Regions from separate parts of the Homo sapiens genome. Here all the other regions are linked to region 1. The links are contacts of gene promoters, found by promoter capture Hi-C in human tissues and cell types (Jung and others, 2019). All regions are on one chromosome and are shown on one strand. Each heading gives the region's core, a stretch centred on a gene start or on the middle of the fragment in contact. The rest is flanking DNA. Distances are from core to core; before and after follow the strand shown.

What was found. The method cuts DNA at HindIII sites, captures the fragments that hold promoters and counts their contacts. A contact is called where the count stands out against the background at its distance.
Region 2: a contact is called between a fragment that was not itself captured here and the fragment with the promoter of STX18 in region 1, in 1 of the 25 tissues and cell types used here (heart left ventricle).
Region 3: a contact is called between a fragment that was not itself captured here and the fragment with the promoter of STX18 in region 1, in 1 of the 25 tissues and cell types used here (bladder).
Region 4: a fragment that was not itself captured here is called in contact with the fragment with the promoter of STX18 in region 1 in 1 of the 25 tissues and cell types used here (dorsolateral prefrontal cortex).

Annotation. Positions count from the first base shown.
Region 1 is chr4:4,539,869-4,546,602 of GRCh38, forward strand. It overlaps STX18 (syntaxin 18), which reads right to left and starts at 2,180. Exons shown (of 11, transcript NM_016930.4): 1 at 1,929-2,180. The coding sequence starts at 2,096. It overlaps LOC124900165, which reads left to right and starts at 2,263. Exons shown (of 6, transcript XM_047416490.1): 1 at 2,263-2,607; 2 at 4,870-5,039. It overlaps STX18-AS1 (STX18 antisense RNA 1 (head to head)), which reads left to right and starts at 2,263. Exons shown (of 6, transcript NR_037888.1): 1 at 2,263-2,607; 2 at 4,870-5,039. RefSeq lists enhancers at 2,050-2,329, 2,054-2,348. The HindIII fragment of the contact is 5,470 bases long and covers 1,687-6,734 here.
Region 2 is chr4:4,887,160-4,894,672 of GRCh38, forward strand. It overlaps the pseudogene LDHAP1. Among named protein-coding and RNA genes, the nearest start is that of MSX1, 31 kb to the left of the region's middle. RefSeq lists a silencer at 1,583-1,877. The HindIII fragment of the contact is 8,117 bases long and covers 1-6,785 here.
Region 3 is chr4:4,930,731-4,938,146 of GRCh38, forward strand. It overlaps LOC101928306 (a long non-coding RNA gene), which reads left to right. Exons shown (of 3, transcript NR_125893.1): 2 at 3,090-3,215. Among named protein-coding and RNA genes, the nearest start is that of MSX1, 75 kb to the left of the region's middle. The HindIII fragment of the contact is 4,312 bases long and covers 1-3,678 here.
Region 4 is chr4:4,279,333-4,286,504 of GRCh38, forward strand. LYAR (Ly1 antibody reactive) reads right to left here. Exons shown (of 10, transcript NM_017816.3): 3 at 4,289-4,463; 4 at 2,451-2,565; 5 at 310-417; 6 at 115-198. The coding sequence starts at 4,410. Among named protein-coding and RNA genes, the nearest start is that of LYAR, 7.2 kb to the right of the region's middle. The HindIII fragment of the contact is 5,768 bases long and covers 2,507-7,172 here.

The sequences.
Region 1 (6,734 bases), core at 930-3,429:
CCAACTGTGCCTCCTGTCTCTACCATTCCCAAATCCCCCCTTTCCCTGAGCAGGACTCAAAATTAGCACAGTGTTAATAAATCAGTGGTTTCAGAGTTAGAAGGGACCCTTAAAAAGCCAATACTGTGATATTCATACCACAGTTCTACAAAAGGAATCTCAAGAAGTGCTTGGGCCAAACTGGGAGGGAGAGTGTCCTGTTTCTCTTCCTCTTATTTCAACCTAGGAAGCTCCCACTTTAATTTGTTACATATAGAGGACCAAGGTAGTTTTTTAAAAGGAGGAGGAGAAAAAAAGGACCATTTACAGGTAAATAAACTGAGGTCTTAAAACTTGCTTAATGAAATCATATAGCTAATAGTTGCAGGGTTCAGACAACAACCTCGTCTCTTGGCTCCTTCTCTGGTGCTTTCTCTACCAGATAACATCTGACCATCTACAGGGCAAAATTCAAACTCTGCAATGATACACAAAGCCCTTTAAGATCTCCGCGTCCAATTTTTATGAGAGTCCCACATTCCAGTCTCACTCAAATGTTTATTGAACCAACTTATGTCAGACTGTTACCTACCTCCACAGCTTAGCGCATACTATTCTCTTAGCCTGAGATGTCCTTCTGCACTGGAACCAACTAATCCTCTTTCAAGATTTGTTTTAGGCATCATCGCCTCTATAAAGCCTTTTCTGGTCCTCAGGTAGAACTGACCACATTCTTTTTGTGCCCTACACAACACCTGCAAGGCTTTATGGCACTTGTTTTATGTCTATGTCCGTCTACTCCACCACTGCTTTTACATCATATTACTCTAACACGAGGCTGGTCAGAAGGTAGGTGCTTCATAGACGGTCATCAATAGGGCGAGTGTATTCATCTGGTCCAATCCCCTTTCTAATGTTTAAGTATCCTCTGCTAACTGTCATTAATGCATGCATGACTACATTCATTCAAAAATATCTGAGTGTCTATACAGTGCCAAGTGTATGCCAAGCAGAGAAGGATTTACTGTGAAATTAATGAGGCTTAAGCTTTAGGGTCCCTCTCTTCAATCTTCCAAAGCTCTGAATCTTTCTTGGTGATTTTTATTTCTTGAAGAGGGCAGACAGAACTATATAAGCTGTAGGCCCCACAAAACCTAGATACCTCCTTGGTGTCACGAACACAAAAGGGAACAAGACAAACAGCTCTCCCCTTATGGAGTTTTCTGTTTAATGGGAAAGACAGCCATTTGTTCATTCACTCATTCAACAAACATTTACTAAGCAATGCTATGAGTCATGCATTCTGAGATGAAAACAACACTGTCCCTGCCCTTAAGGAAAAGGTTCCTGTTCCCAGGGAGATGAAGGGACACCTGCTCTGATCAGGGAACAGAAAGTAGTTGAGGTGACTGTAACACTGTGTTTGCGAAAGATTACCCTAAACCCGTCTCAAGAGGAACTGAGTCCTACTTATTGCAGAGACAAAGGGAAGAAAGAGTTCGGCTGAATACAGTTTTTAATCTCAACTAGGGGTGGGAGGCAGACAAGTAAATAGAACAGGCAAATATGGTGTGGTCAGTGCTGCAACAGGAAGCGAAGGACTGTCAGGAGGTTTCCCCTGAGTGCAAGTCTGTAGTGACGGCGAACTCATGACCTCACAAAGCCGCCCATGCACTTTCCAGATAGAGATTTCTGAGGATCTCCTTTCTTGTCCCCCAATCCCTGTCGCCGCAGGAGAAATCTGTTCCCCAATATGCGTCCCCCTTCCTCAAAATAAGGCTGTTCCTTCCCCCAAAAAGCTGTAGGGTCTCTGAGGCCAACTCTTCTGTCCCCCTTAGAGCCACCCCCTTCACACAATGCTTACGGGACGGGGTCTGGTTTGGGGCCCGGGGTCCCTGTCGCAGGACTGCCCCCTCCTCAACCCGCCGTTTCCATAGCAACCAGCTCACCACTTCGCGGGCCCGGCTGGAGAAGTCGCCCTTGGGCCGGGGGCTCCGGCGGAACAGCTCGTCCCGGCTGCCATCGACCCCGCCGCCCACCGCCACTCCCAGCGCCTTGTTCCGCGTCTTCACGGTCTTGACGCTGGCCCGGAATAGCAGCGTGATGTCCACCGCCATAGCGACCCGCACCCTCAGCCCCACACTAGGCCCGCCCACGTAAGCAGCCGGCGACCGCGGCGCGAACCCGGCCGCTGAAGGACTGGTCCTGCCCCACACGCCTCCCCCCGGCAACGGCGACGCGAGAAGAAAGGTTCCGGCCTGCGCCCTGCTACCGCGGCGGGAGGAAAAAGGTTCCGGCCTCAGCCGGCGCACCTGGCGGAGGAGGAACCTCGCGACGCGCTCTCGGGCATCGGTTTCTCCCAGCAAAGCTTGGAGGGTTTAGCTGCGCGGAGAGCTCAGCGAGCTCTTCTGTGTCTGTTTGGGGCGTGTGGGCTCCGGGAGCGTGAGGACCGGGAAGCTAGGAGGCTCCTTCCCTTCTGGCGGCTCCCTCACTGAGACCGGGCGGTTTGGTTGCGGGGGAAGTGGAGACGAGCCACCCTTGACCTTTGACTGCAAGAACTCACCTTGAGCAGGATAGAGGCACGTGGACGGTGACCCTCGGGATGCAATAAATGCTGAGACAGATCAGGTGTGCAAGGCACAGAGCTAGAGGCCAGAGGCCTTTCTTCTCCAACCTTCAGTCACCTCTTTTTAAAGTGAAGCCAGCATCCTCCTCGGGGTTTACTGTGAAAATTAAGTGAGCTGACGCGTGCTGTGTTTTGATGTTGCTTGGCTCCTAGTAAGTGGCCAATAAATGGTAGTAATCGTTAATAATGTTATTATTATAATCACTGTTATTTGTGGTAAAGGAAGAGGCTTTAGAGAAAAGGCGTCACCTGTGCAGAGATTTGAAGGATGAATAGGAAGTTTAGATGGAGACAAAGGTGAAAGAGTGGCCCTAATGCCGCTGGATTCTCTTCATCCTTCATGCATAGTTTTTAATTGTACCGTCTTGAGCCATAGCTATTAAAATTGACAACTCAATCAATGAGTTTCTTCTGCATTTTAGGTTCATGTTCTGTTTTGTGTTGTTTTTTGAGACGGGGGTCTACTATGTTGCCCAGGCTGGATTGCAGTGGCTAGTCAGAGGCGCCATCCTAGCTCACTACAGCTGGAACGCCAGGGCTCAAACGATCCTCCCGGACTCAGCCTCCTGAGTAGCTGGGACTATAGGCACGTGCAACCGTGCCTGGCCTATGGTTCAGTTTTAATTCAAAATCTCATTGATTTCTTCAAGATTTCTTTTTTCATAAAGAGGAAGCACAAGTAGAATATGTATTAAAACAGCAGTTTTAATGGTCATCAAGATAAAATTTTCACAATACTAAGATGTTATTTGCCTTTTCGCTCTGATTTTCTTATGAGTTGCATACAGTTGAGTTTGCTGGAGACTGTGATATTGCAACGGAGTAAATGCAGAACAGCTGTTTTCTATTAAGCCAGACTCCAAAAAAAGACTTTCAAAAACATCAAGTTTTTGTTTTGATTTCTCATATAGTAAATGTCGATAATGTCAATATAAACCAAAATTGTTTAGAGCCCTTAATAATTTTTAAGTGTGCAAAAGAGTTGAGACCAAAAGTTTGAGAACCACTGTGTTAAAAAAATAAAGTTTATCAGAAATAGATGTCAAGAAAGTATATATTTACCAGAAAGGAGGAAGGAAAAGATTTTTTTTTTCTTTGAGGCGGAGTCTTGCTCTGTCGCCCAGGCTGGAGCAAGCTCCGCCTCCCGGGTTCACGCCATTCTCCTGCCTCAGTCTCCCGAGTAGCTGGGACTACAGGCGCCCACCGCCACGCCTGGCTAATTCTTTTGTATTTTTAGTAGAGATGGGGTTTCACCGTGTTAGCCAGGATGGTCTCGATCTCCTGACCTCGTGATCCGCCTGCCTCAGCCTCCCAAAATGCTGGGATTACAGGCGTGAGCCACCGCGCCCGGCCAGGAAAAGATTATTTAAACCCAAACTGTAGCCACTTCTTGCAGTTTAAGGAAAATAAATTTCCATACAGCTTTCTTCCACCTACTGAGGAAAAGAGAAAGAAATTACAAAATCTCTGCCAATGATTCTATCTTGCATAAATGGCCCTTTGTTTAATCCAGACATTAATCAGTTTTTGGCCATGCAAAGTTAAGCCTGGGGTAGAGTAGAAGGAAAGAGAGATTGCCCTGCATAATAAAGTGAGGGGGATTGAATTGGGGGGAAGAAAAGAGAAGCCAGAACCCAGGGAGGGGGCCGGGAAAGTACAAAGTAGGTAACTGGGAAGGATCTTTGAGTGGGAGGGAGGCTGAACTACACCAAGCCTTCAGTGAGTGGTGCCTTGTGTAAACCGTGTGTTTGGTGCAGTTGGATATTTTGGGTAGAAGGGTAGGGACAAAGATCTAAGTTTTCTGTCTGGATTTGCAAGAGCAGAGAAGATTGTGGTGGATATAAGACCCAAGTGAGCTCAAAACATCAGGCTGTAAATCCACAAGTGACCACAAGTACATAAAATTCCTAAATAAGTCACAAAGATCTTGAGGAGGCTGCTGAACTTTCCACAGACCATGGGATATGGGGTTGTGCTTTTTACATTTTGTGTTTACTCTTTAATTTAAAAGAGCAAAGTGACTTCAGTTGACAGTTGACTAATATTAAGCCCCATAAAGCTGAGAGGGGATGTGGGTTAAAAGGATGTGCAGAAATGTTGTGAGAGTATACTACTGCAACTCCAGGGCTCAAACAATCCTCCCGGCTCAGCCTCCTGAGTATCTGGGACTATAGGCGCGTGCCACCATGCCTGGCCTGTTGGAGGTAGCACACAACTGCCCAGTTGGATGTAGTATACAAATTTTGTTTTCTTTATGCATTCAGCAAACATTGAGTGGGCCAGACACTGTTCTGAAAAATACGCAGTCGACTTTTGAACAGCACAGGCTTGAACTGCATGCGGCCACTAATACTCGGACTTCCTTCTGCCTCTGCCATCCCTAAGACAGCAAGACCCACCCCTCCTGCTCCTCAGCCTACTCGATGTGATGATGGTGAGTATGAAGACCTTTACTTTATGATGATCCACTTCCATTTAATGGATAGTAAATATATTTTCTCTTCCTATGATTTTCTTAATACCATTTTCTTTTCTCTAGCTTACTTTATTGAAAGAATACAGTATCTAATACATATGACATGCAAAATATGTGTTAACGGACTGTTTATGTTATTGATAAGGATTCTGGTCAACAGTAGGCTATTATTAGTTAAGATGTTAGGGAGTCAGAAGTTATACACAAATTTCCAACTGTGAGGGGTGGAGGAGTCATCAAGGATCAACTGTATTGGCACCCCTAAATATAGCTCACTACAGCAGCAACACCTATGCAAGGAGACTAGATGTAGGCTGCCAGTGAAAACCAACGTGTAATTTCTGGGCAGCAAATTTAAGAGCTAATGTATGATTCACGATGCTCTTTTCCCTCTGCTATGACAACCCTTAATGTTCCAATGTTCCATCAGCCTGAGTCCTTAAGTAAAGATGACATGGAGCATAGCCAACCAAGGACATTGTATTAGTCAGAGTTCTCTAGAGGGACAGAACTAATAGGATAGGTGTATATATAAAGGGGAGCTTATTAAGGAGTATTGACTCACATGATCACAAGGTGAGGTCCCACAATAGGCCATCTGCAAGCTGAGGAGCAAGGAGAGACAGTCCAAGTCCCAAAGCTGAAGAACTTGGAGTCTGATGTTCCAGGGCAGGAAGCATCCAGCACGGGAGAAAGATGTAGGCCAGAAGACTAAGCCAGTCTAGTCTTTCCATGTTCTTCTGCCTGCTTTTCTTCTGGCCATGCTGGCAGCTGATTAGATTGTACCCACCTAGATTGAGAGTGGGTCTGCCTTTCCCAGTTCACTGACTCAAACGTTAATCTCCTTTGGCAACACCCTCACAGACACACCCAGGAACAATACTTTGCATCCTTCAGTCAAGTTGACACTCAATATTAACCATCACAGACATGTACTAAGATTGAGAATTGTCCACAGATTTGTGGGTGTTTGTTAACTGCAGCATAATTAGCCTGTCCTGATTGATGACAACCCATATCTAGGTATCTACCAAAACAGGAATATTAGATGTATTCTCCACTCACCATCGTAACAGTATTATTCCTCAGTGAATGAAGCATGGAGAGGAAAGAACAGTTGTGCCTAAACCTAACCAATGGAAAAGACCAGGCTGGCAGGGACAGAGTGGCAGAAACCTTGGAAGACTGTGACCATGGCAGGGTAGAATTTATAACACAAGAGGAAAGGCCTTCAAAAACATATACCTTCACGTTAGGAGGTAAACTCAATGAAATTCATTGAAAACCATTTTTCCCCCCTCAGGGACTCTGGAAAGGACCCTGACTCTAGGGGTGGGAAGCTCAAAGAAGAAGCTTTTGTTCCCAAGAGGGAACCTAGATAAAGAATTCAGGGTGGATTTCTCTTGTTTTTTTTTTTCTTTTTTTTTTCTTTCTTTCTTTTTTTTTATTTTTTTATTTTTGAGATGGAGTTTTGCTCTTGTTGCCCAGGCTAGAGTGCAATGGCGTGATCTCAGCTCACTGCAACCTCCACCTTCTGGGTTCAAGCAATTCTCCTTCTTCAGCCTCCCAAGTAGCTAGGATTACAGACGTCCTCCACCATGCCCAGCTAATTTTTTGGGGGGTGTGTATTTTTAGTAGAGATGGGGTTTCACC
Region 2 (7,513 bases), core at 1,477-3,976, 350 kb after region 1:
CTGCTGTCATATTCGTAGTGTTTAAGAGCTCTTCCATATTCTCTGAATGTCACCTTTATTATAGCATCCTGTTCTTGTTTCACAGATGCAATATTTATCTCTCCGAGGCTTGGAATTACAGATTTTTAAAAAAATAAGTTTATTCTGCTTGCTGCATTTTCTCTCTTTTCTCTGAGTTCCTTCTCTCTCTCTCCCTTTCTGCTTTCATCTTCCTCTTTTATATCAAGAGATGCTTCCCAAATGACTGGTGACATTTGCCCAAAAACATGAAATAAGAGCTCTGTGGGCATAATCTGGGTTTGTGGGCAAGTCAGGCAATGAAGCAGCGATCCGTCATTTCACTGGTGCTGCCGAAATGGCAGTTTGTGTAGGTCTTTCCCCTTATGCCAGTGGGTTTCCCTAGAGGGGGATCCTTCAGTTTCTTCCCAGGGGAGGGCAGCAAGGGCACAGCCTGGCTGCCAGGTTTCTGGGAGCCAAGTTGAGAAAGGTGCCCAGATATCTCACCATTGTGAGTGCAGAATTCCTCCACATGTTCTGGGATTAGCCAGGTGTCAGGACACCTCCTTCAGATGTGTTGGTGTTCCTGAAGCCAAAGCCTGTTTGGGGCAATTCCTCCAGAGAGGAAACCAGAGAGGTGGCTCATGAGGACGGGTGGTACTCATCTCGCTGCCTGTGATGAGGACCTTCCCACCAGGCCTGTGTGCTCCCCATTCATTTCCTGCCCCTGGACCTCTCATTCCTGGGCTATTATTCCTGGATCTAGCCATAAGTGGCTTACTTGTGGTCACTCCCCTCAAAGGCTGGGATGGAACTGTGAGAGAATACATTTACCATGTTAAAAGACACCCAGCTTGTGGTTAATTGGTCACAGCAGCCTCAGGGAACTAATGATGCATTTGGGAAAAGTTTTCACAACAAAGGTATGAGTGTAGAACATCTCAGGATTCTCCCACACATGACCAACTGGATACCTGCTGAACTATGACCTGGTTTCTAAAGATCCAGGGCAGCAATCTCAGGCTGATGTTTCTTTCCAGCTTAGGCTTGGTTAATTTATTGCAGGCTCTGCAGTTTTCAATGCAGGGTGTATGTGGAAACCACCTGGTTTCCATCCCAGAAGCTACCTGGTCTCCATCCCAGGGCATTTTAAAAGAGGTTCTGTATGTGCTTCAGGTTACACGGTCCTGGTGAAGAGTCACGGCTCTGAAACCAGCATTGGCCCCCAACATAGAGGATAGAGGAGAGCAGACCCAGAGGGAGTCTCCTGGCCTGTTCTTGAACTAGGGAGACCTCTGGGAGTGTCAGGGAGGAGTAGTGCTTTGGGACCCAACCTTGTGATTGAGAAACAGAGGCCCAGAAAAAGCAAATGACTTGCTAAACTCATGAAGCTGGCAAGTGATGAAGCTGGAATTTGAACCAAGCTAGAAGTTAGGTCTCTTGACTCCAACCTCTGGTTTTCGTTTCCTTTGGGCATGTATCTCTGAGACTGGAAAATGTAACCTAATGGATCTATTCATGGTCTGGGGCCATGTGGCCAAATCCCACGTAGGTCCCCTCCCACAGAGCCCCAAGGTAAAGAATAAGGCAGAATAAAATGAACTAACTTTAATCAAAAGGAAATGCTCCTTGTGCCTCCTCTATGCCTGGCCGACACTGGGTGCCGGGACTAGGGAGTGAGGTGGTCCTTGCTGTCAAGGATGGAGGGAAGGAACTCCCTAACAGCAGCCTGTGCTGAGCCCATGACACGTGCACCAGACACAGACTCAGGGCCACTCAACTAGCAGCAGGTGTCGCCACTGAACAGGTAGGAAAGCCAAGGCTCAAAGGGTAACAGATCCTAGCAAGGGTCACCCAGGTTTAAGGTGGGGTTATGGGTCAAGTGCCTGTCCATATTCATATGCTGAAATCCACAACATTATAAAAATCCCAGTTCCCAGGTCAAGAGATGCCTACATAGCCCACCAACAAGCTCAAATTCATGTGCTGAAATCTAACCCCCTATGTGACAGCATTTGGAGGTGAGGCCTTTGGGAGGTGATGAGGTGTTGAGGGCTGAGCCCTCATGATGGAATTCGTGCCTTATGAGAAGGGACCAGAGAGCCAGTGTCCCCTCTTTCCACCATGTGAGGATCCAAGGAGAAGTCAGGATTCTGCAACCCAGAAGGGGGCCCTCGCCAGACCTTGGCCATGCTGGAGCCTTGATCTTGGACTGGCGGCCTCCAGAATTGTGAGAAATAGGCATCCATTGTGGATAAGCCACCCACTGTGGTACTTTGTTATAGCAGCTGGAGCTAAGACAAATGGTGAAGCCAGGTTAGAACTCAGCTCTCTCCGATTTACAACTTGTTGGGGCAGAGGGAATGAGAACAGGTCATTGCAGCCTTCCCCAAGATGTACTATCTCAGGTGGTCCTTCTTCCCCAGGAATTCTGCCCGTCGCTAGCCCCAGGGGCTAGGATTGAAGGAGTGGAGGGGAAGAATGATGTGCCCTCTGAAAAGGCATCTTCCCATGCCTGTGGGCAAAGGTAGAGCCTGTGTTGAGTTACAGGTCTTTGGCATAAGGTGTCACAGAACTGGGCTGTGTTTATGAACTACCTAGGGATCTCCTGACCTGGGAAGCAGGGTTGTTATAATGCTAAGCCTGGGGAAGGCAAGGGGAACAGGGGTGATCAGAGGACACCTTGGTGGGTCTGACTCAGTCTTCCATGTCTGTTTCTCAGACCTACTGAGTTCGCTGAGAAGACCCTTGAGTGAGCGGATGGCAGGCAGGTTGCTTCCTCACAACGAGGAGTAAGCCAGCCCCAGCTGCGGCAGGCCCTGCCCACCTGCCCTCAGCGGGTGAGCAGAGGAGCCCGGCGCTGTCCCGAAGGAGGGCATCTCAGACGTAAGGGCAGGCACACCTAGCTTCTGGGCTGCCCTGTGTGCTCCTCCACTTCTCTGAGCCTCAGTTTCCTCATCTCCAACATGGGATGACTCTGATGATAACACAGTAATGCCTACCTTACAAGGTTTTTTTTTTTTTTTTAAAAGATTAAGAACTGCAGTGGGGGAGCATGTTTTGTAAAAACATCAAATCCAAATAAACATCAGATTTCCCTGTCTTGTGCACTCCCATGGCCCCTTCAATAGCACTGAAGTCTGCTACGTCACTGTCAATTTTACTGCATGTCTCCACGGTGAGGATGAAAGCTCTCTGCCAGCAGGCACCCAGGCTACTCTGCCCATTGTCAAATTCTTGCCTGATGCTTAGGTGCTTAATAAATATTGGCTAAATGACTATATGCAAATGTTATTGTTAATATGATTGCACTCTGATAGGATTAATACATCTTTTGTCTTATGAATAGAGCATTCTATACTAGATTTTGTCTTCTAGGATATACATAGGGACTCCTCGACAGTCAATATTTCTCTCTTTCTTTCTCACCCTCTCCAAATTCCACCTCTGTCCATCTATCTGTCATCCCTGAGTCCAACCCAGCACAGATCCTTCTTCCTCAGCCCTCCCAGGCAGCTCCTGTCCTTTCCCACAGGGAATTTCCAGGCCCAGGCCTGGCAGAGGTCAAACTATCTGGACCTGGGACCCTCTTGAGCCTGGCAGAGGTCAAACTATCTGGACCTGGGACCCTCTTGAGTCCAAAGGCAGGCTCTGGTCTGACCCAGTACCGGTCTCAGTGATGGACTGAAGCCATTATAGGCTGTGGCTGGGCACAAACCTCCTGATCAACATGAAAAAGACGTCAAGTATCTGAAAAAATCTATGTTTTGGCTGCAGGCTCGCCTTAACCCCTCATGAGCTGCCTCTGTTGAAAGGCTTTTCTTTTTTTTTTAATTTTGTTTTGTTTTGCGTGCAGATTATCTGAGAACTGCTTGGCACTTGGGAATTTTCCACTGGCGCGAGCTAAGCCTGCTAATGCCAAGAAAGGAGAGAAGAAAAATCAGACAAAATGGGTCCCGCTCTCCTGCCAGTCTCAATTTGGGAGACTTTTTCCATCCTTGGGGCCATTTGTGAAAAATCAAGCTCTGAGGCCTTCTAGGGAAAATCTCTGGGCTTTTGATTCTCCAGTGTGGAAATTCTCTGCATTTGAATATTAAGTAGTGAAATGAGAAGGGTGTGGGTTACTGATGCCAAAACAGTTGTGTGCACTTATTTATTTATTTTTTTCCTTTATCATGGGGAGGCAGCGTGGTTTCTGTAGTCTGAGAAAGCTTAATCAAACTGTGGCTTCGTTAGTTACTGCGTGGGTTGGAGAAATTACGTTGTTTCCCGAGCCTCAGTTTACTGCTCTGTAAAAAGAGCTAATGGTACTCATTTTGATGAGTTATTCGGAGGAGTTACTGTGTGGATTCTGTGTGTGTTCTGTGGTCTTCTTCTTCCTAGGGTGTGTGTGTGTGTGTGTGTGTGTGTTTGTCTTTTATGAATGAGGGGCTAGGTGGAGATGGTGTTTTCCTGTAGGGGTTTCTGAGCCCCACTACCTAATTATCTCTAAAAGGCCCTTCCAGTGTTAATCAAATGAAGAGCTGTATCTTCAGCTGGGAAGCTGAATCTTGGAGGGTGGGCCCTGGGCTGGTAGCGGGGGACTTGCATGAATCACTACAGATTATCATTCCTCAAGGGCAGGTGTGTCTGGCAGGGTGGTCTTTCGGGCAGTGGGTGCTAAGATGGTAAGCAGAGCAGGTCAGAAGCCAGGATGACATAGCCTGCTGAGATGATGCTGTTTTATGTTCCTCTCCATATTTATTTTGGACTTTAGGGAAAAAAATCTTGATAAAATAGAACCTTTTATTCATGTCTCAACTGTGCTATGGGATTTTAAAGGGAAGAATCTCTGTAAAGACAGCGAAAATGTGTAGGGGCCCTGAGCAAGCAAAGAGTTTGTCCTCCAAACTCATGTTCCCTAAATGTTGCCTTCATATTCATCTGGGGGTAGGAGTGGCAGATATGGGGAAGTAGGAACCCTGATTCTATATCTCTTTTGCTGTCAGAACAGTTCTGCTCTGGCCCAAATTTGCAGGCTTTACAGAATAAAATAAAACTATAATTAACTCAGGCCCCTCTAATAAGATTAGATCAACCATCTGTTGATCATCAAGCCTGCCTTTGGGGGTCTTATTTTTCAATCCAGGAGGCCCCTCAAAGAATTCTTTCCTGTCACACTGCCCTTGAGATAATTTTGCTAAATATAATTCCCTCCATCTTACTCTCCCTGGAATGATCTGGTCCCTCTCATAGATGGCTTCAGAGACATGCTCAGCTGTTGGTTCTTTTTTCTCTCTTTCCTTTTATAGACAGGGTCTTGCTCTGATACTGAGACTGGAGTGCAGTGGGGCAACCGTAGCTTAGCTGAGACCACAGGTTCATGCCACCATGCCTGGCTAATGTTTTTTTTATCTTTGTAGAGGTGAGGTCTCACTGTTTCCCAGGCTGGTCTTGAACTCCTGGGCTCAACTGATGCTCTCACTTCTGCCTTCCAAAGTGCTGGGATGACAGGCATGAGCTATCATGCCTGGCCTTGTTGGTTCTTAATCTGGCTCTGTGAGGCTGTCTAAGGGGGACAACCCATCTCCCCTAGGCCAGAGAGGTGGATCATGGTAGCAGAAACCAGCATCATCCATGAAGTCAAGAGGATTGGGACTGTGAGGTCCCAAACCCCTTCCTTGATGGAGATTCTGTGTTGCAAACTTGAAAGTTAAGGGTTTCTTTAAATTAAGGAAACTGCTAGCTTATTATAGTTTATAAAAGAGCACAGGACTGGCATGTAGTAGGCATTACATATGAGACAACATGGTGCAGTGTTTATAGGAGGGGGTTTTAGACCAAAACTCTCTGGTTTCAAATATAATCACTATCAGCCATGTGACTTTGGGAAAATTACATAAGCGCCATGTACCCCATTTCCCCATCTGCAAAATAGGGATGATGACAGTACTACTTTACGTGGTTGTTCTGATGACTAAATGAGATAATACTTTAAAAATGCTATCAGTGGGTGTGACATGCTGCGGTAGGCAGAATAATGGCTCCCAAAGATGTCCACTTCCTGATCTCCTGGACCTGTGACTACATTAGGTTCATGGCAAAGGGGAATTAGGGCAGCAGGTGAAATTGAGCTTGCTCATCAGCCATCCCTGAGATGCGGAGCTCATCTGGGATGATCTCGGTAGCCTGATGTAATCGACAGGGTCCTTATAGGTGGAGGGGGGAGGCAGAAGAGAGAGAACCAGACCCATTGTAACCTGAGAAGATTGTGGCCCACAATTGGTGGTTTTGATATGGAAGAGGAGGTCATAAACAAAAAAATGGAGGTGACTTCTGGAAGCTGGAAAAGGCAAGGAAACAGATTGACCCCTGGAGCCTCCAAAAAGGAACATAGTCCTGCTGGAACCTTGATTTAGACCCGTGCTGGATATTTGACCTACAAAACTATAAGAATATCTATTGTGTTGTTTTATTTTTATTTTTTTTCACTGTTCAAGGTTTATTGGGGGTTTTAGTTGGTATGACACTTGGATAGTTGGTTGCATTGTTTATATGTAGATGTTTCTTTTTGCACTATACGGCAATGTGTACGACTGATATATATCGTCCACAGAATAAGATCCTTTGGAACAATTATGCACAAGACATGCAATATTGGATTTATACACTGGATCCTAAGATGTGACTGATTGGAAAAAAATGTTGGACTAGGCATGTTCGGTGAAGGAGCCAGGAAGTTATATAACACACAGTAAACATCCATCTGGCTCAAGGGGTAACTGCAGCATTTGCAGCATTGGCAGTGGTGCCTCAAAGGTGGTAGACTTATAGGACTATGCGAGATTAGTACCATGAAGCATCAGGATATAGCTGTAGGATTTTACAAACCATGCCTCTTTCTAACTTTAGGAATTGATGCTTTTCCAAGTCTGTCTTAATATTACTGCTTTAATCACAGATCAGATAAAAAGGACAACATGCACAACCTCCAACTAAAATCCTGTTGTAGCCTAGACAGTGAAGTGGTGTGATCTCAGAAAACTTTAAAATTGCAGCTCTTTTTGGATCCCCCAAAGTATCTGCACTCTTATTCAAACAGGCCTCTTCCTCAGGAGTCAGAGTCACCTTCACAAGGTCTGAGATTCCATTCTGTCCCAAGATGCAAGGAACACTAAGGAAGACATCATCCTTTATTCCATAGAGACCCTTAATCATGATGGAAATTGGGTGTCCCACCTAAGATTCATCATACTCTCTGCCAAATCTGCCACAGAGAGTCCAAAGGCCCAGGAAGTGTAGCCTTTCAGTTTAATCACCTCATAAGCATTCTTGACCACCTGCTTTTGAACCTCTTTCCACCATTCCTTATCTGTATCAGTCCCTAAATCTGGATGCAGAGTCCTCAGGGAGACACCAGCAACGTTCACTCCACTCCATACAGACACAGTAGAGTATCCATGTTCCCCAAGAACTCACCTATGACAGCTTAATGGGTGAACACCCAGCCTTTCCTCCATCAGGTAACGGAATTGGG
Region 3 (7,416 bases), core at 273-2,772, 390 kb after region 1:
TTTCTTGTTCTGAAGTCTGGAGGGCTGGGCCTAGAAAGCAGGAAGGCAGTCATTTGTGATGAAACTGAGAAAGTTGGATGAAACTTCCACATTCTTGCAAATTCACACCTTCTCTGAGTGCTGCACTTAGCCACGTGCTAAGTATTTCAGTGCCTTCTGGGGGCCTGGGAGGCTGGATGAAATTATTGAGTTATGAAGCAATTTTACTTGGAATGAATAGTGAATTTTTTTTCTTGCAACAAAGAGACACCAACGTGTATTTTTGGTTTTTGGTTTTTGTTTTTGTTGTTTTTTTTTCCTTTGCAATTAATTTTAGGAAGTACTTGTGAATGCAATCAAGGTGAGGGTGGACAAAGTCATACTCGGCATTGTCTCAGAGCTGCAGAGCCAAGCAACAGCCTTAATGAACAAAGCCACATGGTCTTGGGGTTGGAGGGAAGGTTTATAACTGACTCAAGGCCTCAGCAATTGTGGGACACTGAGGGCTCACTCAGGCCCAGAGATGTGGGGAACCCTGGAGGCTGGGAGGCTTCCTTGACCCCTGCATAGAAAAACAATGCATCAGGGAGAAAGCCCTTCACTTTTGCTGCTTTATAATGGCCTGATGGAGCTATGTGGACCCTTCAGGTAAATTGGGACACTGGCTATTATAAAAGAGGTGCACAGGCAGTGAGGGGGAGAAGTTAATAATATTAATAATAATTCTGATGATTACTCTGCACGAGGCACTATTTCTATTCCCTATAGCTCTCCTGCAAGATAGACATTACTAGGCCCATTTTTATGTGCAAGGAAATTGAGCCTCAGAGCATTAAGTAACTTGCCCTGGAGCATGTGTCTGGTAGCAGGGCAATCAACTGTCCCAATTTGCTTGGGACTGTCGTGGTTTTAGCACTGAAATTTCTGCATCTCTGGAAACCTTCTATTCTGGGCAAACTAGGACAGTTGGTCACCCTAGAGGAGTCAGGGCCAAGATGACAGCCAGGTCCACCTGGTTCCCAAGACTGTTGCTCAACACCATACCAGCCTCATATGTAAGGCAAAGCTCTTTCCCATAAGGCCGCATGAATAGGAAGCTTCAGAAGAAGAATTTGAACCTAGGACTGTCTTCCTCCAGAGTGGGTATTTTCTTACCAGGCCATCAAGACAGGAGCACCTGACTGTTGATACACAATGGCAGAAGGTTCCAGAATACCTGTAGCCCTGTGGTGCTTCTGTGAACCGATAGGTAGGCCTAGTGGTTATGCCTTTCCAGGGGCACACATATTCCTGGGGGAGAAGCTGGAGTCTTTGCAGCATCTGCATCCTGGCCCTGATTTCAGGCCAGGCCTGGTGGAGAGCAGGGATGTCCTAAAGCTTTGAGGAGTGAAGGAGGGAGGAGACTGCACACAAGTTTGCTTTCATTTAAAGAGCAACACCAGGCTGGGCACGGTGGCTCAGCAAAATGCTGTAATCCCAGCACTTTGGGAGGCCAAGGCGGGTGGATCACCTGAGGTCAGGAGTTTGAGACCAGCCTGGCCAACATGGTGAAACCCCATCTCTACTAAAAACAAAAATAAAAAAATTGGCCGAGCATGGTGGTGGGTGCCTGTCATCCCAGCTACTTGGGAGGCTGAGGCAGGAAAATCCCTTGAACCCGGGAGGCAGAGGTTGCAGTGAGTTGAGATCGCACCACTGCACTCCAGCCTGGGGTGACAGAGCAAGACAATAAATAAATAAACAAACAAAGAGCAACACCAATGTTCAACTGCTCAATAATCGGCAGACACAAATACAGATATAAAATAAAGACCAATTTTAGTTGAGGTGTCACTTCTCTTTGTCTCTCTGTCTTTCTCGCTCTCTCTCTCTCTTTCTCTCTCTCTACATACAATGTGTATAAATAATATATAACATATTCTGTCACCATATTTATATGCTCACAAAAGTTTTTCAAGCTGTTTCTCCTTCCTTGAAGCTGTTTTGAATTTATGAGCAACTAGAGTAGAAAACTTATTCTTCATTGTGGCTGGCATTAAACATCACATTTAGCTCCTTGTCCTAATTATCCCTAGATTTGTTTCTATGTTTTGCTACTCCCCGGAATCCCTGTCTTTCCAACCTCCCTGGTTCCAGGACCCCTGGGTCCTCATTCCTTGTAGGTAGAAAAGATCCCAGATGGAAAGATGTGCCAGCCGAGTCTATTTCAAGTGACTTTGCACCTTGGCTGTTGGCACACTGCTGGTGTGTTCTGATATCTGTTCTCCCCTCTTTCTACGGTAATAAAAGCCTGACGTTTTGGCTGAGCACACAGCCACCCCTGAAGTAAAGACTACATTTAGCAGCATTCTTTGCAGCCAACTGTGGCTCTTTGACTAAGTTTTGGCCAAAGGATATGAGTGTGACTTATACAAGCTCTGAGTTATGCCCTTAAAGGGAAGCCTTATACCCTCTCCAGCACCATTTCTTCTCTTCCTGCTAGTTGGAATACAAATGTGTTGGTGAACTCTTTGGGAGAATTTCTTCATTTATTTAACTGGGATAATCTTGAATAAAAAAGCAAACAAAGAAAAAAGACTCCATGGTGAATAACCAGCAGAAATAAAAGACAATAGAAATAGACCTACAAAGATGTCAGATATTCGAATTATCAGAGGCTGACCACAAAACAACATCATAGAGATGGCAGAACAACATCCTGGGAGAAGCTTGGGTTCCTGATACCTTGGGGGCTGCCTGGCTAGCCTGCATATGTAAGGGAGAAGTCAGTGTCTAACTTGGGCTTCTGCTATGGTAACTGACACCATGTCCGAGTAGCATACTGCTTCTCTGTAGCAGCTAATTTCATTCCTGAGTCATTGTCTTCCAATCGTTATGTTAGTATATGCTATCTTTTGGATATGGCTTATTTGGCCCTGCCAAGTCTCATGTTGGAATTTGATCCCCAGTGTTGAAAGTGGGGTCTTGTGGGAGGTGTTTGGGTTGTGGGGGTAGATCCCTCATGAATGGCTTGGTGCCATTCTTGTGGGAGTAAGTGAGTTTTCATTCTTAATTCTTGCAAGAGCTGGTTGTTGAAAAGAGCCTAGTACCTCTTTCCATCTCTCTCTCAGCTACCCCTTCACCATGTGATCTCTGCATACCAGCTACCTTTTGCCTTCTGACATGAACGGAAGAAGCCTGCAGCCCTCACCAGAAGCAGATGCTGATGCCATGCTTCTTGTACAGCCGGCAGAACTGTGAGTCAAATAAGCCTCTTTTCTTTATAAATTACCCAGCTTTGGGTATTCCTTTGCAGCAACACAAGTGGACTAATAATAATATATTTATTAGCAGAGTCATTTTCAGAAATAGCTTAAGCTGACACCAAACAAAATCTTCAACTTCTAGGGCTTTTTAAATCATAATTTTGGTGAGAACCTGACCACTCTTTTTTTAAATGATGGCAATTGCAAGGGTCCAGAAAGATCTAGAATTGGTTGGAATTGGTAGAAAAAGAGGAGATGAAGATGGTGGAGGTGAAGGATAAGGCATGATAGCATCTAACCTTTATTGAGTGATAACTCTGCCCCAACACTATGCTAAACACTTTACGTATATACTCCTGTGAGTTATGCACTATTACAACTTCCACCTTGTAAGTGAGGAAACTGAGGCTTACTGTGCCCAGTCACACTGGTTTCCCTGCAGGTTCTCTCTAACAGTGTGCTTTGTCCTATGATCATCACTTTGCATATGCTAGTCCCTCTGTCCTGAATACCCTTCCTACCTCAGGTTGCCAGATACACAAACAAAACTCAATGAATAAACAAAAACAGGAGGTGCAGTTACATGTGAATATCAGATAAACAATGAGTAAGATTTTATTATAAACACATCTCATGCAATATAATAATGTTATGCTAAACATTATTTGTTGTCTATTTAAAATTCAAATGTAACTGGGTGCCTGGGCAGCCCCATTTCTTTTTCTTTTTATTATTTATTTATTTATTTTTAGGCAGAGTCTCGCTCTGTCACCAGGCTGCAGTACAGTGATGCAATCTCGGCTCACTGCAACCTCTGACTCCCTGGTTCAAGCAATTCTCCTGCCTCAGCCTCCCAAGTAGCTGGGATTACAGGCACACGCCACCACACCCAGCTACTTTTTGTATTTTTAATAGAGACCGGGTTTCGCCATGTTGGCCAGGATGGTCTTGATCTCCTGACCTCGTGATCCGCCCGCCTTGGCCTCCCAAAGTGTTGGGATTACAGGCGTGAGCCACCACGCCCAGCCTTGGGCAGCCCCATTTTTATCCCAACCCTCTTCCTTTTTTTTTTTTTTTTTTTTTTTTTGAGGGACTCTTGCTCTGTTGCCCAGCCTGGAGTGCAATGGTGTGATCTAGGTTCACTGCAACCTCTGCCTCCTGGGTTCAGGTAACTCTCATGTCTCAGCCTCCCAAGTAGCTGTGACTACAGGTGTGCACCACCAGGCCCAGCTAATTTTTTTGTATTTTTAGTAGAGATGGGGTTTCACCATGTTGGCCGGGCTGGTTTCAAACTCCTGACTTCAGGTGATCCGCCCACCTCGGACTCCCAAAGTGCTGGGATTACAGGCGTGGACCACCATGCCCAGTCCCAACCCTCTTACTTTACCTGGATATTTCCTGCCTACCCTTCCAATCTCAGCTTGAGTGCAACTTCCTTAGGGAAGCTTTCCCTGACTCATAGCCCAGAAGGGGCCCCTTTCATATAGCTTCTCCGGGACTATGCATCATGCCCTCACAGGCCTTACCTCCATTAGACTGTTTGATTAACACGCTCTCCCTCAAGTGGACTGCAATGACCTTGATGGCAAGGTGCGCACCTGCTTTTGCTCACCACTGCATGTCTCCCCCGCTCCTCGCACATGCCTGGCACATAGCAGGAACATGATAAAAAGAATTGTGAAATGAAATAAAGGGCGGTGGAGTAACTGGCCTAAGACAACCCACTTAGCAAGTAGGAGAATTAGGAGTCAATGCTAAGAAGCAAAGGCAAGAGATGTTTGAAAGGAAAACATCCCTCCTTAGCATGGCCTCTCAGGCCTGCTACCTGCCTCCATAGCCCCTCTTAAGGAAGGCAGCTCCGTGGGTTAGTCACGGGCCCTGGAGCAAGACTGCCCTAGATGGAACCCAGGCTCAGCCGCTGAGAATCTGGATGGTCATGGGCTAGCCACCTCACCTCCCTGGGTCTCAGCTTCTCTGTCTGTAAAATGGTGACCAAAACTTCTGGCAGGGCTTTTGGAAGGATTAACCGAGTCAAGACCTATGAAGCCATAGAACAGTGCCTGGCACCTCCTATGTGCCCAGTAAATGTGAGCAACTGTGGTGCCACCTCCACCTCGCTCACTGAGTTCCAGCTGGGCTTGCAGAGTGCTTTCAGACCCCAGGGCCTTTGCATGTGCTATTTCCTCTGCCGCTGAAGCACTTCTCATCTTTTTTTTTCCTGGTCAGCAAATTCTCATTCTTGAAGGGCCTTTCTTCGGCCGGGTGTGGTGGCTCACGCTTGTAATCCCAGCACTTTGGGAGCCCGAGGCGGGTGGATCATGAGGTCAGGAGTTTGAGATGAGCCTGGCCAACATGGTGAAACCCATCTCTAGTAAAAGTATAAAAATTAGCTGGCTGTGGTGGTGTGCACCTGTAATCCCAGCTGCTCAGGAGGCTGAGGCAGAATTGCTTGAACCCAGGAGGCGGAGGTTGCAGTGAGCCAAGATCACGCCACTGCACTCCAGCCTGGGTGAGAGAACAAGGCTCTGTCTGAAAACAATAACAACAACAGAACCTTTCTTCTTCCCACCCACTGAAGTTTCATACTCTTTCCCTCGCCATCCTGTTTCACTGGAGCCCTGTGTGCAGTATGTAATGAAACGAATATTTGGTGTGTATTTGTATAGGGTCTGTTTTCTTCTACCAAACTAAGTTCTACAAGGACCTCTCCTGATTTGCTCCCCACAACATCCACAGTGGCCAGCATAGCACGAGTCATACAGTAGGCACTCATGGTGAACTAATACACAGTGACAAAACCTGCAGGACCTGGTGGCTGTTGGCATGGAGTAGGGAGAAGAGAGGACAAGGAGGGTCCTGAGAAGTGGGGAACAGCTTTGCCTTTAATGGAAGCAGGGCATGGGGAGGTCCCTGGATGCCATTCAGCTCAGTAAATGTTTATTGAGTGTCTGCTAGTTTTTCTACTTCTTTCCCATCAGTTAATCATACAAGCTAGCTCAGAACATGGAAAACATCTCATGGGCCAAATAACGCAGATGAAAGCTCTATGACCTTGGAAGCTACTCCCATAGCAGCTGCCTTGAGATCTCTATGTGTATCTAGGCACAGATGGAAATAAGAATCATAATTGATGCCAGGAATTGCCAATTTAAAAATATAAATGATATACAATGATTTTTAAAAATCCCATAAGATACATATATTTTCCATTTTGCAGAAATGATAACTCAGTCTTAGAGGCAACAAGAGATTTGTCCAAAATCACAGAAAGTAGCAGGACTGTTGAGATTTTACCCCTTGTCCACCTGGCTCTAAAGCCTGTGCTGTTGCCCCATTTACCCTGCAGCCTCTGAAAAGCTGAACCTTGACATGATTGGTCTGTCTGCCATTCCCAGCTTAGCTCGATACAACAGGAGCCAGAGGTCTCATGGTTCAAGCACTCAGTACTGACTAAGCACACCCTCTAGGACCTTGGGGAGCAAGGGGAGCAAATTCAGCAGTCATTATTCTGATTTGCTATTCTTTCATTGATTCTTCCATCTTTTGATTTACTGATTAATGTATTCATTCATTCATTCTACAAAATGAATTGCACAGGCAGACATGTAAATAGGAAATTGTAGCAAGATGTGATTACCTGGGAGTGGCAGTGTTGGAGCAGATTGGCCCTTGTGCTACCAAGGTTCCTAGGATTGGAGGACCAGACAAGTTCTTGAATCTCTAGGACGGGGTGCAGAAATGGAAATCCACTGGAGACATCAAGCATGGCAGCTCCTGTCGGATCCCCGGGAAGGCCAAGCACGTCTCATCTCTTGTTATTCCTCATGTCCTTGCTGCCTTAATCAAAAACAATCGCAGTATGTGTGACTTAAAACGAATGGCCAAGAGGGATAATTCAAAACAGGCATGTCTAGAACTAAGCACCCCACTGGATGGGAATCAAGTGATTATGTGAACAAAGAGAAGGTATCAAGTCAGAGGCCATCTGTTCATTCACAGGCACTCCTCAAGGACTCAGTGCCAGGGCCAGGGCCTCATGGGGCCTACAGTCTAGGGGGCAGAAGAACAATGAACAATGACCATGCAGCAAGCCATGTGCTGGAAGGAGAGATAAACGCAGAGCTGTGAGCCTGGCGGTCTGTGTCTGTAACTGTCCATCTCACCTCTTTCCACACTCAGGACCTGGAGGCCA
Region 4 (7,172 bases), core at 4,141-6,640, 260 kb before region 1:
AAAAAATAAAAATAAAAAAGAAGGCTGCCTTGACTTCCAAAAATAAGAAATTCCCATTTCATTATTACTAATTATTTTTGCCACAATGCAAATCTAAAATCAGATCTGACTTACGCTGTTGGAAGCTTCAGAAAAGATATTCCACACCTGGTCCAGAATGGATTCATTATGAACTTTTAAACTGTTCTTCATCCAATTCTGTAAGAAAGAAAAAGAAAAAGAACTATTGATCCCACTTGGACAGGTACACACAAGCTCAGTCACTGATGGGCCACACGGCCCCCTCCATTCAAGAAAGTCAATTCATACCTGAAATTTTGCCTTTTTCCTGGGAACGTTGTCAAAAGCACTAATTTGCTCTAAAAGTTCTCTCACTTTGGGGCTGACATTGGGTCTCTTTATTAATTCACTAATTTTCTACAAAAAGGGAAGAAAAAAGAAAAACTATTAATAAACAACCAACATGAGTTTCATGAAAGCCAATTGAAAAAGTCCTTGCCATGGCTAAAGCGTTCACGTTTTAAGCCCAGATTCTGTATTTATGTCTATGCTTAAAAATATATAGGTTAACTTCTATTAACATAGTACTGGAGTCCTAGCCAGAGCAGTTAGGCAAGAAAACAAAATAAAAGGCATCCTAACTGCAAAGGATGAAGTAAAATTATCTCTGTTCACAGATGATGTGGTCTTATATGTCAAAAGTCCTAAAGAGTCCACACAAAAATTGTTAGAATAAACAAATCCAGCAAAGTTGCAGGATACAAAATCCACATTCAAAAATCAAGTTGCATTTTATATAACAACCAGAAAGAGAAATTAAGAAAACAATTCCATTTGCAACAGCATCAAAAAGAATAATCAGGAATAAACTTAACTGAAGAGGCAAAAGACTTGTTTACTGAAAACCAAAAAACACTGCTGAAAGAAATTAAAGTAGACACAAATAAATGAAAAACATTCCGTACTCATGGACTGGGAGACTTAAAGTTGTTAAGATGTTAATACTACCCAAGCAATCTACAGATTCAATACAATTCCTATCAAAATCCAATGTGTGTGTATATATACGTTTTTACAGAAACAGAAAAATCCATCCTAAAACTCACAGGGAATCTCAAAAGATACCAAATAGCCAAAACAATCTTGAAAAGAACAACAAAAATGCAGATCTCATATTTTCTGATTTCAAAACTTATTACAAAGCTGTAATAAGTTTCTGTAGTTTGCTGACCCCTGCTTCAGAGGATTTCATCGAGTGTGACAGCAGCAGAGACGGAACTCACAGACCCATGCACCTCAACCTTAGGGTCTAGGAACGTCATCTGGTTTTTAGAGAATTACAGAGAGTGCTCAAAAGTGTGGCTGCTGGTCACCAGTGCAAACAGGATTTCATTAGCTTCTCAATCTGCTCTAGTAAGTCCTTTGTGAACAGAAATACCCTCCCAGTAGTATGCTCATTCAGTAAGCTAGTTAATGTCTGAAAAATTCACGTTCCAACTCTATTATCAAATGGAACGATTACTTTTTATTGGTTTTTAGAAAAACACAGAATTTTCAATAGATGACATCCGTCTTTTCATTATCCCACCTTCCTTTCTGAATCCTTCCTCCTGCTACCTATTCTGTAAATGATCAGTAGCATTCTGAGAGTTATACTTCCCAGTGAATTAGGGAGTCAATGTTTCTGCCATTTCTACTGTGCATGTTTTCATGCTGTTTTAGTTAAGTAGAAAATTCTCTGCATTGACGAAAGTATCTTTATTTTGCCTAATTCTAATGACTGGCAGATGTGACAGATTAACATGGCTTGAGTTATAAAAGCTCCATTATCACTAGAAGCAGGGAGAGATTAGAAGCTTCCATTTAGTTTTACAGCCAAGGGAAAGCTAATGAGAATTCTAAAACTTTTTTTTCAAGAAATTAACAAAACACATGGATTAAAGGTATAATGCACCGCAACTGTTTTAACAGCTAGAAGAATAAAGAACTTTTTTTCTTTCTTTTCTTTTTCTTTTTTTTTGAGACGGAGTCTCACTCTGTCACCCAGTACAACCTCGGCTCACTGCAACCTCTGCCTCCTGGCTTCAAGCGATTCTCCTGCCTCAGCCTCCTGAGTAGCTGGGATTACAGGCACCCGCCACTATGCCCGGCTAATTTTTTGTATTTTTAGTAGAGATGGGGTTTCACCACGTTGTCTAGGCAGGTCTTGAACTCCTGACCTCGTGACTCGCCTGCCTTGGCCTCCCAAAGTGCTGGGATTACAGGCGTGAGCCACCATGCCCAGCCAAAGAATTCTTTTTCAAGAGGTTTTAGTTCAACCTGTCTATCCTAGGACATGAGGTTTCCAGAGCTTGTCTGCAGGGATGACACATTTACTCTTAGTCTCTTGGGCTTCCAAAGAAAGCGGAAGCTGTCAGAGGAAGCTACTCAATGAGTTAGAGAGACGTTACCTGAATCCACGCCTGCTGTTTGATGTCGCCTTTGTGGGTTTTACCTTCATAGCCTTTGCCACCATACTTCTGATCTTCACTTATGCATTTCACGTGGTTTTTATAGTCATCGCCCCTTTAAAGTGATCAAAAGTTCTGCCATTAGACTGATACCCAAGTTGGAGGCGCTAATACCAGCATGCTGCCACTATCTTCTGTGGTCTACACTGTATATTTTCACATGTGTCTATCACACAAGCACCCCATCTATTTCACTTATTATGTTTACAGCCTCCTGGTCAGAACCACATCCCCCTTCCTCCAAAGTCGTCAATATAAAACCCATCACCAAACTTTTCCCCCATTTTTATAAACACCTTAAGCTAAATTGATAGGCAGTATTTTTTTAAGTCATAAGTGTACATATACTGAATAAACAAGAAAATAGTTCTATGCAATAGGGTAGTTTTTTTAAATTATAAAAATCTCAATGTCTAATAGACAGTCAATAATTAGTTGTAGAATAAATCAAAAACAGATATAAAATGGCAGCATGAGGTTACCAACAGTTCTGGATCCCTTAGGGTCCTGAGAAAAAAGAAAACTAAATTCTCTCTCATATAATCTTTGTAAAGCTCTATGGGGTTCTTCAGGGAAATGTTGGGGACAAGGTCCAGGGCAAAGTCCCCTAATGAAAACTCAATTTTAACCTACTTTATATATCAAGCTTCCTCCTAGGATTACGTCTGAACAGAGGTTAGCAGTTTCCAAAAAAAATCACTGCTCCAGAATGAATTAAAAGAGAGTATTAGCCAGTACCATCCGAATGCCTCAGAGGACACTGGGGCAGATGCAGCCAGAAGCCAGCTTCTCGCCTGGACCTTCTGAGGCTGAAGGGGAATCAACATGAAATTCAAGAGGGGAGCCCTCTGCAAACGACCCACCTGAAGAACCGGTGTCTAAGGCAGGATCTGTCCTGTCCCTCCCCGCTAACTCCTCACATTCACAGAGGCCTCCTCAGTGGAAGTGTCTCCTGACACACCCGTGGGGCCAGGAAGAGCCTCACTTCCACCAGCACCTCTGATTTTCTAGGGAGGACATAGTTTCCTCTGCTACCAGTCATCTGCCCCACTGTGAGCTCATAAATTCACTTTCTGGTTCATAAGTCCATCTCTCCACTGTGATGGGCATGTGATACCCATGGTCTAATGAAACTGGCTCTAAACCCCTGGAGCCATCTTCCACGCAGTTAGTTCCCTGGGTCTGTAAACAGTGGCAATGCAATAGCAACCAGTGTCACCAACTGACTGAACACTCTAATCATCATAATTCCCCTTCCCCTAGTCTTTTCTTTAACATATCCTCAAAAAGCAAATTGTTTCGTAAAGCACATTTCTCCCCCCCAAGAAGGGGTTAACTTGCTCTGTTGCCCAGGCTGGAGTGCAGTGGTGAAATCTCGGCTCACCGCAACCTCTGCCTCCTGGGTTCAAGCGATTCTCCTGCCTCAGCCTCCCGAGTAGCTGGGATTACAGGCGCCCACCACCACGCCTGACTAATTTTTGTATTTTTAGTAGAGACAGGGTTTCACTATGTTGGCCAGGCTGGTCTTCAACTCCTGACCTCATGAGCCACCCACCTTGGCCTCCCAAAGTGCTGGGATTACAGGCCTGAGCCACTGCGCCCGGCCTAGTAAAGCACATTTGAAAGAATCACACCAGTTTTAATCAATGGAACATACCAGTTTTTAGTCTTAATTTCATTCTTCAAATTTGCCACTATTTTTCCAAGCTTTGTGGCGCCAAGGCTTCCAAAACTGATCTGGATTTACTATGGATCTACATGAATTCTGTGAAGCTTACCAGAAATCTTTACCGCAGTCAATGCAAGAAAGGCATTCACAGTTTCTGCAAACAGACACATGCTTTTCCACTTGTATTTTCTTCACTGATTCACCACATGCATTGCATGTAAAAAATACCATTTTTAGGTAAATGGCTAAATATTCTCTATCCAAGACAGGTTTTAAGTCTTGTCCTAAGGAAAAAAAGACAATTATAATTATAAACTGAAACTTCTCATTTCAATAAATGGCTCATGCCCCTAACTTTTCAACCATAATTTCACATGAAAATAACAGAGTCAAAGTTGATTAGCAATCTACATAAAATTCCACCATTCATATAAGTAAAACTAACATTAACAATGAGAATGGCTAACATTTATTGTGTCCTTACCACGTGCCAGGCACTATTCTAGAGGCTTTACATTTATTCACTTATTCAATCCCCGCAGTAACCCTATGAGGGAAGGACTATTATTGTTCAAAATTTATATGAGGTAACTGAGACACAGAGATTACATAACTTGCCCAAGGATACACGGTTAACAGAACCAGGATTTAAACCTGGCAGATTGGCTCTCAAGATGAAGAGCTTTGAGGGTGTTAAATCTTACTTTCCATAATACCTTAAACTCTCTCTCTGTATATGAAACTTATAGAAGGCATTGCAATTTAGGTGTACACTACAAACTATTTCAGGTCCTCAAATATACTAAGAACACAGCAAGAGGAAAACTGAGTGAAGTTTAGAAAGTGAAGAAGAGGCAATTCTATGGGCACAATTTCTATGGCACTAAAAGCATTCATATCAATATTACTATATATCTACAAAGGTTAAAATGAGGACATGCGCCTCAGCTGTAATGGACAGGGGCCTTCTTCATGTGGCAGCTTGTCAGACAAGTCAGAAAGAAACGGAACCAAGTCCAGGTGTCCCAACTGCTGGGTGCTGAATTACTGGAGTTCACAAACCCAGGTGTCCCGAGCACTGCCCCAAAAAGAAGTATGTCTGCACACGCACATAAACATCATTGTAAAATTTCACAGAAATGCTACCGTGCTCAGGAAAACACAAATTCGTCTAGAAGTGTTAGAGAAGTCACAGTAATTTTCCATACTTACATAATTTTTAATCACTAGATTTTAAAACAGCATTGTTGTTTTACATTATAAGTTTTACAGCAAAAATACTGAGAACTGTTTAACCCAGAGCTTTCTTCCTCATTAGGAAAATAAAGGTGAGGGTCAAGTAAACCGATGCAATTTACTTCAGGGTAGGACTTCATCCAACAAGCTTTCAGTACAAATGATCTACCCTTGGTTTGCAGAGAATTCCCATGCATGAAATCACCGTTGCTCCTCCACCAGCATGTTTTGGATCACTGCCAGTGAGGCCACACCCAAGCAACGACCAAGGTTATTCATGTCCATTCAGCCTTGAATGGAAATGTACATCCTGGCTGCATCTCCAGGGTTCACAAAGGTCCAGCTGGTCTCTTGTGGAGGCCTCTTGCCCTGTGGGACACTATCAGACATCAGCTCAGCTTCTACGCTACATACAAACCACAGACCCCTGATTCCGCGGTCCCAGGCCCCGCTCCTCAGCTCACTATCAGTGTATGTTAGTAAACGGACAGCATGTGGTCAGCTACAACCTAGCACCAAATCCTCAGGAAGGAAAACATGACTACCCTCGATGTGCTGCAGCAACTGTCATCTTCTCATCTGCTTACTGTAAAGATGTGTGATATTGTCAAGCTCCTGGGAGCTGGAATCACGTTTCCCACAACCCAGCTCCCTCAAAGCTTACCATTCTAAAAAAAGGCAGAGGGATGATCAACATGTCAGGCAACAAGAGCAGCTATCCTGCCTGACAAGGGAGAACAAAGGCTGGAATAAGAGCCAACATCACATTCTCAAAGAGCATGGAGGTGCACTTTGGTGTAAGAGCAGGAATAACTTATTAGTCACCAAGAAATAGATTGTCATCACAGGCACAAGGTGAAAGCAGCCGTGATATGCCAAATTATCTGCTGAAAAACGTTAAAGCACTTTTCTAATAAGATACAACAACAAAAAACAGTCTCTGAAACTTAGATACGGCTTAGAGCTTGCCAACCTCTGTTGCTGAGGACAATTCTATTTCTGGATGGAGTGGGAGATGGGAGGAAGAAAGGTTTCGACAAGGCTTAAGAGTGAATTGAGAGATTCCTGTCCCAGCAGGAATTAAAGGCCTAGGAAGGAAGCTGGAAACAAAATATATTGACTGAAAGAAGCAGTGAAAGCAGTGATGTTGACAAAAAGATACTCAAGAGTAACTGTGCCAAACATTCTATCTCTCTGGAGATCGGCTACACACTACAGTGTAATTAAATATCAATTCAGAAGGTGATTAGAATCTGGTTACATGTCCAGCTAAAAAATAACTCTCACATCATTTTCATTTGGTCTTTACTTGTTTAAGGCCAAATGGGTGGATTGCACAGGAAGTCAGAACTGTCTCTTCCTGCCTTCCTCCGGATTTTTACACTTGCCATGAAATGGGAACAGCTCTGTGTCCACTTGCTTGGCTAATGAGCTAATGTCTGTAAGGAGCTTACCTCTCCTTTATTCAGAGCCTGGAGGACAGTCCAGCACCTTGATTACACCTCAAACCCAACCTAGCCCCAGGCGAAAATACCTGTAATTTATGCCATAAACACTTGCTTGGGCTTCAAAGAAAAGCTCAAAACCATCAGAAGCTTCAAAGTCAGCCTAACTGCACAGCAGACAGGGTGTCCCAGGTCTTAGTGCAGGCTTAATATTCGTAAGCGTAAATGCTACAAACTTACAAAAAGCCGTCAGGTGGAAATTCAGTCCCTCTAATGGAAGACAGCAAACATTGCCTAAAACAAAAATGTAAA